Linked DNA regions of Homo sapiens: all the other regions are linked to region 2. The links are contacts of gene promoters, found by promoter capture Hi-C in blood cells and fetal thymus (Javierre and others, 2016). All regions are on one chromosome and are shown on one strand. Each heading gives the region's core, a stretch centred on a gene start or on the middle of the fragment in contact. The rest is flanking DNA. Distances are from core to core; before and after follow the strand shown. Region 1 has its middle 20 kb from the start of ARL8B. Region 2 holds the start of EGOT (eosinophil granule ontogeny transcript). Region 3 has its middle 66 kb from the start of ARL8B.

What was found. Contacts are between HindIII fragments. The CHiCAGO score rates a contact against its expected background, and 5 or more counts as called.
Region 1: a contact is called between a fragment that was not itself captured here and the fragment with the promoter of EGOT in region 2, in 15 of 17 cell types (activated CD4 T cells, M2 macrophages, M1 macrophages and 12 more). The highest score is 21.0, in activated CD4 T cells.
Region 3: a contact is called between a fragment that was not itself captured here and the fragment with the promoter of EGOT in region 2, in 17 of 17 cell types (activated CD4 T cells, M0 macrophages, M1 macrophages and 14 more). The highest score is 32.7, in activated CD4 T cells.

The regions. Positions count from the first base shown.
Region 1 is chr3:5,100,101-5,104,077 of GRCh38, forward strand. No RefSeq gene overlaps it. Among named protein-coding and RNA genes, the nearest start is that of ARL8B, 20 kb to the right of the region's middle. The HindIII fragment of the contact is 1,481 bases long and covers 1,131-2,611 here.
Region 2 is chr3:4,749,723-4,753,700 of GRCh38, forward strand. EGOT (eosinophil granule ontogeny transcript) reads right to left here and starts at 1,868. Exons shown (of 2, transcript NR_004428.1): 1 at 1,224-1,868; 2 at 1-288. The region is part of intron 44 of ITPR1 (inositol 1,4,5-trisphosphate receptor type 1); the gene reads left to right. The HindIII fragment of the contact is 1,839 bases long and covers 1,042-2,880 here.
Region 3 is chr3:5,054,183-5,058,360 of GRCh38, forward strand. No RefSeq gene overlaps it. Among named protein-coding and RNA genes, the nearest start is that of ARL8B, 66 kb to the right of the region's middle. RefSeq lists an enhancer at 1,205-1,264. The HindIII fragment of the contact is 3,568 bases long and covers 1-3,065 here.

The DNA.
Region 1 (3,977 bases), core at 621-3,120, 350 kb after region 2:
AGACTAGCCTGGCCAACATGATGAAACTCTGTCTCTACTTAAAATATAAAAATTAGCCGGGCATGGTGGCACATGCCTGTAATTCCAGCTACTCGGGAGGTTGAGGCAGGAGAATCACTCAAACCCAGGAGGCGGAGGTTGCAGTGAGTCGAGATGGTGTCACTGCACTCCAGCCTGGGCAACAGAGTGAGACTCTGTCTCAAAACAACAGTAACAACAACAACAAAAAACCCTAAATTTGATTGGCTCGAAGAATGTGTGAAGGGTTTGACAAGATGATGAATGCCAATAGTGTATCTGCTGGAGTTTCATGTACAAGATGAAGACAGGCAACATCCAAAATTAGTTGAGACATGATTTCCTTGTATGTGGCTTAACAAATGTGGACACTAAAACTCTGCCTTAAAAATAAGAATTGAGGCAGGGTGCGGTGGCTCATGCCTGTAATCCCAGCACCTTGGGAGGCTGAGGCAGGTGGATCACTTGAGGTCAGGAGTTCAAGAACAGCCTGACCAACGTCGTGCAACCCCATCCTTACTAAAAAAATACAAAATTAGCTGGGCGTGGTGGCATGCACCTGTAATCTCAGCTACTCAGGAGGCTGAGGTAGGAGAATCGCTGGAAGTCAGGAGGTGGAGGTTGCAGTGAGCTGGGATCACTCCATTGCACTCCAGCCTGGGCAACAAGAGAGAAACTCTGTCTCAAAAAGAAAGAAAAAAAGAATTGAGGCCAGCCATGGTGGCTCATGCCTGTAATCCCAGCACTTTGGGAGGCCGAGGTGGGCAGATCACTTGAGGCCAGGAGTTGGAGACCAGCCTGACCAACACGGTGAAATCCCCTCTCTACTAAAAATACCAAAATTAGCTGGGTGTGGTGGTGAATGTCTGTAATCCCAGCTACTCAGGAGGCTGAGGAAGGAGAATTGTTTGAACCTGGGAGGCAGAGGTTGCAGTGAGCTGAGCTCATGCCACTCCACTCCAGCCTGGGTGACAGAATGAGAGTCTCAAAAAAAAAAAAAAAGCAGGTATTGATTTTGTCTTATCTAGAGATAAAGGATGGGATGTGGAATAGAGATTCAATTTCCATTTGGTTCATGAAATCTATAAGGCCATAAAACAGGTAAAATGAAAAGCTTCTTCCGTGATTCTGTTTATATGTACCTCAGAAGGAACTTCCAGGTATTACTGTAAGTCCTCAATGTATTGTTTTCACAGTACTAATTTAATGCTTTTATACCTAGATGTTTTACGTTGTTAAGCTATCACTGTTCTCTTGGGAACTAAACACTTTTTTTTTCTCCAAATCTTTGGATTTGACATTGCATGTGACCTTTTATGTAGTAATTGACATGTGCCAGGGCAGTCATGGATTATTAATAGAATTTACCCCCAGCTTCAAGCATCATGAGTAACTCTTGCTTATCCTCATAAAGTCAAATGGTAGGCATTTCCCATCATCTATTTTCATTCAACAAGAGCACCCAATTTATTTAGCTAAGCTGCATCCAAAGAGTAGAATTTTGTTGACCTCAAATAATTTCAAAATGCTTCTTTGTATTTCTGCATATGTTGAATACGTTTTATAATTTAAAAAATCATCTGCTTTGGCCAGGCATGGTGGCTCATGCCTGTAATTCCAGCACTTCAGAGGCCGAGGCAGGTGGGTCACCTGAGGTCAGGAGTTCGAGACCAGCCTGGCCAACATGGCAAAACCCCATCTCTACTAAAAATACAAAAAAAAAAAAAAAAAAAAAAAAAAAGCCAGGCGTGGTGACATGCACCTGTAATCCCAACTATTCGGGAGGCTGAGGCAGGAGAATCACTTCAACTTGGGAGGCGGAGGTTTTGGTGAGCCGAGATAGCACCATCGCACTCCAGCCTGGGTGACAAGAACAAAACTCAATCTAAAAAAAAAAAAATCATCTGTTTTGAAGATAAAATAACCAATCTTGACATTAAAGAGACAAAAATGAAGGCCAGGCACAGTGGGTCACGCCTGTAATCTCAGCACTTTGGGAGGCCGAGGCAGGTGGATCACTTAAGAGTTCAAGACCAGCCTGGCCAACACAGCAAAACCCTGTATCTACTAAAAATACAAAAATTAGCTGGGCATGGTGGCGCGTGCCTGCAATCCCAGCTACTCGGGAGGCTGAGGGAGGAGAATCACTTGAGCCTGGGAGGTGGAGTTTGCAGTGAGCTGAGATGGTGCCACTGCACTCCAGCCTGGGTGACAGAGCAAGACTCTGTCTAAGAAAGAAAGAAAAAGAAAGAAATGAAGAAAGAAAGGAAAGAGAAAGAAAGGGCAAAAATGAAAAATGTGAAGGAGACAAAACTGTAAATCAAGTATTTGGGAGGTGAAAACTGGAAGCTGTCTTGCATTAAATTCAGAAAGAAATTAATATTCACTCTGTAAATATCTTTTAAAAATGGATCAGAACAGCCACACTGAAAACATATTGTTTGGTTATCAGGCAATATTTTTACAAAGAACCTGGTCCCAAGCCTAAAAGTGAGCTTGTTTCTGCAGTAAATATTTTACAATTGCCTCTACACACAGAAATCTCTTAAAAAACAGACATTTCTGAAGTCTTGAGTGCAGGGTCATGCATAGAAGCTTAGACGTTGCAGTAACAAATATGGCCACAGTAGTATTGATAACCAATGTCATTTTTTCCCATCTCCAGAACCTACATGGAGACGAGATCAAACAGATCTGAAGCTACTGCGTATGTGAATGAATACTCCTTTTGCTTCATACCTGAATGCTGTCAACCTAACTAACAGAGAGAGGCTCTCTAAAGGAAAAAAGATATTTGGGAATAGAGCACTGGGATGGAAATATACATACCATAGTAAACTGTGTGTGTATTTAGAGAAGTAAAGGAAGAAAAAGGTTTTTAAAGGAAAGAAATGAAGAGGATTACATAATTGTTTTGAAAGAACCATCCTTGGCTACAAAGATCAATAGCAAGGGTGATGCCAGTCTGAGGTTGGACAGGCAGTTACTGGGCAGATGTCCTTGCAGGAGTATTTTTTGTGTCAGGTTGACATGGCCTTTGTGTGAGATTGTAGTTTTTGTAGAGTCTCTTTTATTATCAGGCATAAAAGAATAAGAACCCTCTCTTCATGGTCTTTACTGGCTCTATTTGTCAGTGTTTTCTTAACATTGCTCTATCACCCAGGCTGGAGTGAAGTGGTGCGATCTCGGCTCACTGCAACCTCCACCTCCCTGGTTCAGCTGATTCTCCTGCTTCAGCCTCCTGAGTAGCTGAGACTACAGGCACCTGCCACCAAACCTGGCTAATTTTTGTATTTTTAGTAGGGATGGGGTTTCACCATGTTGGCCAGGCTAGTCTCAAACTCCTGACCTCAGATGATCTGCCCACCTTGGCCTCCCAAAGTGCTGTAATTACAGGCATGAGCCACTGCACCTGGCTGACACCATTTTGATTCTGACCACTTTCACAATGTCGTCCATCTATTTTGGGTTGTATATCGTGGTTTTTCTTTTTCTATTTTTTAGAGATGGGGTCTTGCCATGTTGCCCAGGCTGGTCTTGAATTCCTGGCCTCAATGATACATCTGCCTCAGCCTCCCAAAATGCTGGGATTATGGGCATGAACCACCTTACCCAGCCAGTTTGTATGTTTATGCTTTGATTCAAAGTAACTTTGCATATTATCGAATTGATTTGCATTAAACACAAATTGTAAATAAAAACAAATAAATGACTGAAAGAGAAAAAAAAAAGAAAAAAAAAGTGACAGCAGGAAGGAAAGAACCAGTGCGCAGAGAGCAGTGGAATCTGGGTGCAGCAATAAGTAAGTGTATTGTCCGTAGAGAAGCTAAACACAGCAATAAACCAATACAAGTTAGTCTGCATTTTTTCCTCCATCCTCTAACCTTGGGTTCTCTTCTCTTTCTCCTTCTCCTCCTCCTCCTCCCTCCTCCCCCTCCTCCCCCCTCCTTCCCCCTCCT
Region 2 (3,978 bases), core at 618-3,117:
TTCCCATGGTAACTGTTTTTAAAAGAGTTTTGTAGCATCAACAGGTTAGACAGGAAGTCAAAATCATGGAGCTCAGCAGCATCCCCTATAAGCACGTGCTCCTTTTTAACCACCCCTAACAAAGACACTGAAGCACCCTGTTCATAAGCCCTGATGGGCACTGGAGGGTCTGGCCAGGTTGGGCTGGATTTCAGGGGACCTGATTTGTGTTTCCCTGTGCAGTGCTCGTTTCCATCACCATCTTTAAGGAGGAGGCCTTTTCCATCCACTGGACTCTTACCATCGTGCCTGTTAAGGAACAAAAAGACAACTGCTTAGGCCTGGAGGGTATGTGGAAACCACCAGTTACCTTTGAATATACCTGTGGTGCTCGAACCTCCTTTAGAAAACCCAAGATGCCATTTTAATGATGCTTTGCTCTTGGGTATCAAATTTACTCCTTAATTTACCTCAGGAGATGTTCTAAGAGGAAGCCACAAGATTCCATACCTGCTGTTGTTGTTTTAGAGCTGGTGGATTTTTTTTTTTTTAATCCGCGGAGGAGGACTTGACCCTGTGGGTTCCTAACTTGGATGGCCATGCAGAGCACCCTTAACTTGGAAATCTATATCCTGCTGTTTAAACTTCAAGATGATTCCTATCTGGATTAAAGTCCTCAACCAGCAGGCCGAGGCAAACTCTAAAGAAAAACAAGGTCATGCTGCATTTTTTTTTGGTAAGCACAGGAATCAACAAAGAGATGTTATATAACTTCTATTTATATCCTCCTTGCTCACTATCTGCAGGCAGACAAGAGTCGCTGAGAAGGGATTTAATGAGCTCTCTGGGTTTGCTCACCTTCCTGAGCTGGTAGGAACCAGCTTGTTCTCAAATGCGTCAGTAAAGAATCTGGCTGTGGGTGGGCGGCCAGGGTAGGTGGACTGCGTTGTTGCTATGGTGTTTTTTAATTCCCCTGTCTCTCAAAGATCTCACTCCCCCCTTCCCTGACTCCTTCCTTTTGCCCCCTTCCTTTCTTTCTTTCTTTTTTTTTTTAAATCTGTAAGCTTCCTTGTTTCTCACACCTACTCATGATTCTTGGAGCTGTCTCCGGAAACAGAATATTTTCCCTCTCCTTCCTAAGTGCTCAGCTCCCCCATTGTGTAGCCCCGGGACATCAGAAGTTGTTTTCTAAGGTGTGTTTTTTCCACCCTCCCTTATTTCTTTTCCCATGATTTTTTTATTACCAATCCCTCCATGAGAGAGACCTATCCTAGGAGTCTTCCATCTTGCCTGATAGAAGTTTTCTCTGGCATATTCCAAATTCAGATTGCTCCAAAACCAGGTGAAGTCTGTTGCTAGTTGGACAGTCGGTATGGCCTGGAGGAGAAGGGCTGTTTGTATTTCCATGCATCCTCCTTTGTCCTCTTGCCCTGGGTGAAGCAATGACGTCTCTGTCTCCTCTAGTGCGTTATAAAATAGAACCGCAAGAAAACAAGAGAATGGGTTTACCCCACAATCATAATTCCTGGAGCTTGGGTAACTCCTGTTACCTGAAGGTTGCAGGTTGAAATGACTCAGCTTGCATTTAATTAAAAAAAAAAATGCTGCCCCATCAGATTCTCAGCAGGGACGACGAATGCACCTTGCTGAGAACCCTATGGCTGCCCAGGGAGTGGCCCCCTGCACCCTGGCCGGCCTGGTGGTGGCCACAGAGGCTTCTGAGATGGCTCTGTGTTGTCCATCACATTCCCACCAGAGCAGAGACACTTAGAAGATGTGAGTAGGGAGGTTAGGATGAAAAGTTCTTAGAAAAGAATATGTAGTTCCATGAGGACAGGCTGAAAAAATTTTTAAAAAGCCAAACCCACCTCTGCCTTGCCCAGAAGTTGTGCAATCCTTAATAGCAGTAGCCTGTTTGAATAATCAGAGGCAAGCTGACTTCCCTTTATTAACTTCTGTTAGAGACATCTGCATAAAATATCCCCGGATTCCAGACCAAGTAGGTAATTTTTTTTTCCCCTCTGAGTAACGGGAGGGACTTTCCCTTTGGAAATCTTCCAGCAGAGTTAACTTCATGGTTGAGACTGTTTTCTCATTATAAGGTGCCAACAGCTAGATTCCTGATGCAGGGACAGTGAAGGCGCCTCATGTACACACTTGGATCCCCTGCTTCCCTGAGAACTGACTTGATGTTCACAGTTGCCTCTGGTTCTTCTGCCTTGACCCTCCTTTTCACGGAGAAATCTATGCCCGCTCACATTTCCTGAGGTCCTCTGAGTTCCTCTTTGAAACTGTCAGAGGCTCTCTCAAAGTTTCTACCAATTTCCTATTCCTGGGTTTTAGACTTTTGATCAAGATGGCTCTGACACTGAAGGGGATAGTCCTGTAAACCCTCTGAAGTCTTCAAGCCTCGTTTTTCCCCTGGAATTCAGGACTTTAAAAATATATATATTTTATTGCTCTTCGAGGAGGATGTGTTGCAGTTGCCCTCACCATATGGTATTTGAGAAATATGTTTTTATTAGCCTCCTTGCAACACAAACCCACAAACTGTTGAGCCCAGAGCTTGTAGCTATCAAGTCTGGGGAGGGAGCCAGGTTTGGAGACGGAAGGTGCACAAATGATCATCCCTCCCGGGCTGTAGTTAATCATGCAAGCTGCTGTGTCACTGGGGCCGGGGTAGTTAACAGTTAACTCGATGGATTAAGGATCCTCAGCCAGGCTGAGCCCATCACAGAGTTACGTGCAAAAACCGGATAAGCCCGTAGAGGTGACAACACCACATCAGCTGCCTTTGGCTGGTCTGCGGTGTGCTGCATATTCCCACTTAGCAGGACTTTGAGCTTTCACATGCAGGCTTCTTCTGGCCATAAAGTTATACTTCAGCTGCCATGGATGCAAAGCTTGGCTTGAGTGTTTCGGAATTGCACCTCCTTCAGGATTATTGTTCATTCATTAATATAGTAAATTTTTTAAAAAGAGAGAAGAGGCCTTACTGTGTTGACCAAGCTGGCCTTGAACTCCTGGGCTGAAGAGATCTTTCTGTCTCAGCCTCCGGAGTAGCTAGAACTACTGGCTTGTGTCACCACAGCCGGCTTAATATAGCAGATGTTTACTTACTGAGCACTCCCTGGGTGTCAGGTGCTATACACATTGGCGTCAATACAGTCAGGGATGAGACCAACATAGCCCCTGCCCTCCAGGAGCTTACAGTCTTGTGGGAGACAGAGCTAGGAAATCAGCTCATCATCAGCTAAATCAGAGCTTCAGAGAAGTGTGATGGGGAAGCAAACAGGCGCCACGAAGCGTGGCCAGGGAGGGCTTCTCTGGGGAGATACCGTTCAAGCTGAGACCCAACAGATGCGAAGAGAAGGAGCTGTGTGAAGAGTAGCAGAGGGCAAGAGTATTTCAGAAGAGGGTTGGCTTGTGCTTGGGATGTTGGAGGAGCTGAGTGAAGGAAGCTAACGCGGTCTACCCCATGGTGGTCGGTCAGGGGCAGAGCTGCGGAAAGTATCTGCTCCACCAGGGTGATGGGCTTGTCATCAAGTCGGGGCTGGATGAGGTGATCTCTGTGGTTCCCGCCGATCCCTAGTCGGTGCTTCTAAAGGGCACCAAGTTGGCTTGGGCCTGTCCCCTGCTTGGATATGCGCTGCCGCCGCCAAAGCCCTAATATACAAAGCAGCTTTACCCAGATGAGTGCTGTGTGATTTCACCCTGCCCTGCTCTAACCGCTTGGCCATCTGTACATCTTACTGTCAGCTGCCAGGGATGCTCTCTGTGGCCGTGTGGAAGTTACCTGGTGGGCCAGCACACAGCAAGATGGGGATGCAGGGTGGGGAGACATGAAGAGTCCCAGAGCATTCTGCTGGGGACCAGACTCGGCTGTACCCGAGAGTCAGTTGAGTTGGGAAGGACTAGGGTTGACTGGGGGTGACTGCAGTCTTCATCAAGGAGGCACTTGCTTTGCTTGATGCTTTGCCACCTAAGCCAGTGTCCTTG
Region 3 (4,178 bases), core at 32-2,531, 300 kb after region 2:
GGCCGCAGGTTTTCATGTCAATGGAGTGCTCCCATGGGAGTGCTCCTGAGCCCTCCTCCCAGGGATTTCTGGTGCCCGGGAGCACTCTGTCTCCTTTGGTCTCTTCTAACCATTGCTGGGGCTGCGTGGCTTTCTCCCAGGGGCTCAGCTGCACTCCCACGTGCTGATCCCAGTGCTTCCTTGCTCAGAGATTTCAGAAGCCTTGGTTCAGTTACTCTGGTGATCTGACTTCCTCTTCTTGCAACTAGCACTGCCTGTGATCTTGTGTCCCAGTAAAAAAACCAAGTCCCCTCTTCCTACCTCAGCTCCAGTAACAGGCTCCCCCTCTTGTTTTCGTTCATAGTAGTGAGAACGGCTACTTGCCATAGGTCCCTTCTTCATCAGTTCATTCAACTAAAGTTGATTGTGTGACTTGGTGTCAAGTACTTACGGGTACAAAGGTGAGCAAAGCTGGAGAGGACCCTGCCCCTGAGCGGCTTACAGGTCACCCATGCTAAGCACTTTCCCTGTGATCTCACTAAAATTTCGCAACAACTGTACTCAATATGGGCTGTTATTTGTGCCCATTTTATAGATGAGGAAGCTGAGTCAAAGAGAGGTTAAACAACGGGCCTGGCTGGGCACAGTGGCTTATGCCCATAATCCCAGCACTTTGGAAGGCCAAGGTGGGCAGATCACTTGAGGTCAGGAGTTTGAGACCAGCCTGGCCAACATGGTGAAACCCTGTCTCTACTAAAAATAGAAAAAAAAATTAGTCAGGCGTGGTGGTGGGCGCCTATAATCCCAGCTACTCAGGAGGCTGAGGCAGGAGAATCTAGTGAACCTGGAAGGTGGAGGCTACAGTGAGCTGAGATTGCACCACTGCAATCCAGCCTGGGTGACAGAGAAAGACTTTGCCTCAAAAAAAGTACAATGGGCCCAACCAAGGTCACACTTCTCGTCAGTGGTGGAGCTAGAATTTGAACCTCTCTGATCCCATCTGATCCCATAGCCCAAGTTCTTTATAAAATTTTAAAATATGTTTTATTTTATTTTTTATAGAGACAGGGTCTTGCCATGTTGCTCAGGCTAGTCTCAAACTCCTGGGCTCAAGCAATCCTCCCACCTTGGCCTTTCAAAGTGCTGGAACTATAGGGCATGAGCCACCATGCCTTGTCCCAAAACTTAAGTTCTTAACGAGTGCTCACTGTCTCCTCCACCCATCTCTTTGTCTGTGAATTTCTGGAAGTATCCTGAGACTGTGATTCTTCTATAACTGGGGCCTTGTCTTGGGAGTGGAACCCTGCTCTATACCCCTTCCTCTTCTGTGGCTACAGCTCACCTTCCTGTTCTTACATACCCTGTTGTGTCCTGCAGGGCCTCTCCGTCCCACTCATCTCTTTGCCTAGTTTCTTCCTTTTACAACCTATTTCCTTAGCACTGTGTGCTCTTTGGAGCTGGAGTTTCACCGGGTGCCTGAGGCTCAGCCTATAGCTCAAAGGGGCAGTTGTTTTTTTCTTTCCTGGAGGTATCTGCAAGTCTTCACAGTCCACTCCACTCGCCTGCTGCTAACCCTTTGATTCCAAGCTGAGTGATAGGGTATGTGGTAGGGATTGTGGTAACCCAAGGAACTATTGAAAGACCTGAAGTTCTCCTACAACTTATGACTTCAAGGAAGTGTTTCTCAAAGAGGGTGGTACCATCCTTAGGGGATGTTTACTTGTGAGGGTACTTTTGGTTGTCACAGGATTGTAGGGGTGTGGCGGTGGAGATGGGGAAGTCTGATGTCCTATTTGCTTTGAGGGCCAGTGAGAAACTGGCTTATGGGGCAAAAACGGACTTGTATCCCCCAAGATTTGTAATGTCCTACCAGACATTGTGCAAGTAAAAAACATTTTTCATTCTCTGAACCTAGATCCTAACTCTTTTTTTTTTCATATAAACACAAACACCAAACTTCCCAGGAATGCTGCTACTGTGGAAATAGAAGGAAGGCCCTCGGACTTCACCATGACTTGTTTGCCATTTTGGAAAATGATGTCATTGACAGCAGCACCACCCTTGGAATCTGAGCCGATAGTGCCATGCAATTGTACCAGTCGTCACTTACAGCTATTTCATTCATGGAGACTTTAGGTATGCCTAACTGACCATTATTTTGAAATAGCAGATTTAAAGTAAAAGGGTCAGCAGTATTTTTTGAATATTGTCTCACTACTCTGAAATTCAGATGCACTTATTTAAAGTAGATGGCAAACATCTGACTACTTCACCATCTTCCTGTACGGTCAGAGTCATGCTTGAAGATTTTCATACTGAAATACATGTTGTTGTACTATAAGTTATTTTCATTTATTTCTCCTTCATATGACAGCCAGGACTTTATATTTATTTTTAGATATTATGTGTATCAGTAGATTTTACTATCTATCAGGTTCAATTCAGGGTAGCAAAGGCAATGCTACAAAAACATTTCTCTTAAGAAATTGGCTGGGTGCAGTGGCTCATGCCTATAATGCCAACAGTTTGGGAGGCAGAGACGGGTGGATCACTGAAGGTCAGGAGTTCGAGACCAGCCTAGCCAACATGGTGAAACTCCGTCTCTACTAAAAATATAAAAATTAGCTGGGCGTGGTGGCGCATGCCTATATTCCCAGCTGAGGCAGGAGAATTGCTTGAACCCAGGAGGCAGAGGTTGCAGTGAGCTGAGATCGCACCACTGCTCTCCAGCCTGGGCAACAGAGTGAGACTCTGTCTCAAAAAAAAAAAAAAAAAAAAAAAAAAAAGAAAGAAAAAAAAAGAAATAGGGACTGTGGCCAGACTAAAAACCAGAGTTTTAAGGAAATGAAATTACTCTTTTTTGCAGACATTTGTGCAGGTAAAAAACTTATTTTTTGAACCTAGATCCTAACTCTTTTTTCAATATAAACACAAACATCAAGCACTACTGTCGCCACTGCACTCCAGCCTGGGCGACAGAGCGAGACTTTGTCTAAAAAACAAACAAACAAACAAAAAAAGAACTTGAAGCCATATTTTTTTTGGTGCTGGAATTTATACACGAAAATACAGGACGATCCCATCAAAGCTTGCTTGGCAATCCATGTGGAAGCATGGAGACCAAATCAGAGGCATTGCCAGTGTCCAGGCAGGAGAGGATGGCAGCTTGGATGACGGAGGTGCTGTGGAGATGGGGAGAAATAAGTGGATTTAAGATGTCTTGTGGAGGTAGAACCAATAGGATTTGCTGATGGAGTGATGCATGCGTGTGTGTGCGCGCATGTGTGTGTGTGTGTCTGTGTTACAATGGGATCACTAAAGCGTCACACCTAGGATTCATGCCTGAGAAACTATGTGGAGGGTAATCCTATTTATAGAAATACGGAAGATGGCAAAGAACAAATTTGGCAGGCAGAGGGGTCAGGGAAGTGAGAGTTCCTTTTTGGTTAAATTCCTTCTGAAAAGCATATTTGACACTTAAGTGGGGTGTCAAGTAGGCAGTTGTAGTTCCAGGGATGAGTTTAGTCTGGAGGTGTATTAATATATTTCAAAGTAATCAACATATAGGTATATTTAAAGCCGTGGGAGCAGACATTGGATGGTGGCTGTATTTTCCAGTTTTTAAACACCTTTATTGCAAAGGTTTTTGAGCGATGAGAAAAAGAACTTAAAGAAAGGAAAGGGAGAGAAAGAATGCACCAGTCTATATTACACATAGTCTACGTCTTGCAACAAAACAAGTTTTTGGTGTCTGCAAGCAGCTCTTAGCAGAGCCTTGAGTACATGTCTATGAGATACGGGGCATGCACACCACCTGCTGGTCATTTCTTCGCATTTTCTAACACACCCTTCAGGGCAGAAAGAAGTTTCTAGTTTGTCAAAAGTATGAACTGGGCGGGGCACTGTGTGGCTCATGCCTGTAATCCCAGAACTTTGGGAGGCCGAGGCAGGGGGAATCACTTGAGCCCAGTAGTTCTAGATCAGCCTGGGCAACATGGTGAGACCCCCTTCTCTACAAAAAGTAATGATAAAAAAAAAAATAGCCAGGTGTGGTGGTGTGCTCCTGTAGTCCTAGCTACTTGGGAGGCTGAAGTGGGAGGATCGCTTGAGCCCAGGAGGCAGAGGCTGCAGTGAGCCGTAATGGCACCACTGCAATCCAGGCTGGGTGACAGGATGAGACCCTGTCTGAAAAAAGCAAA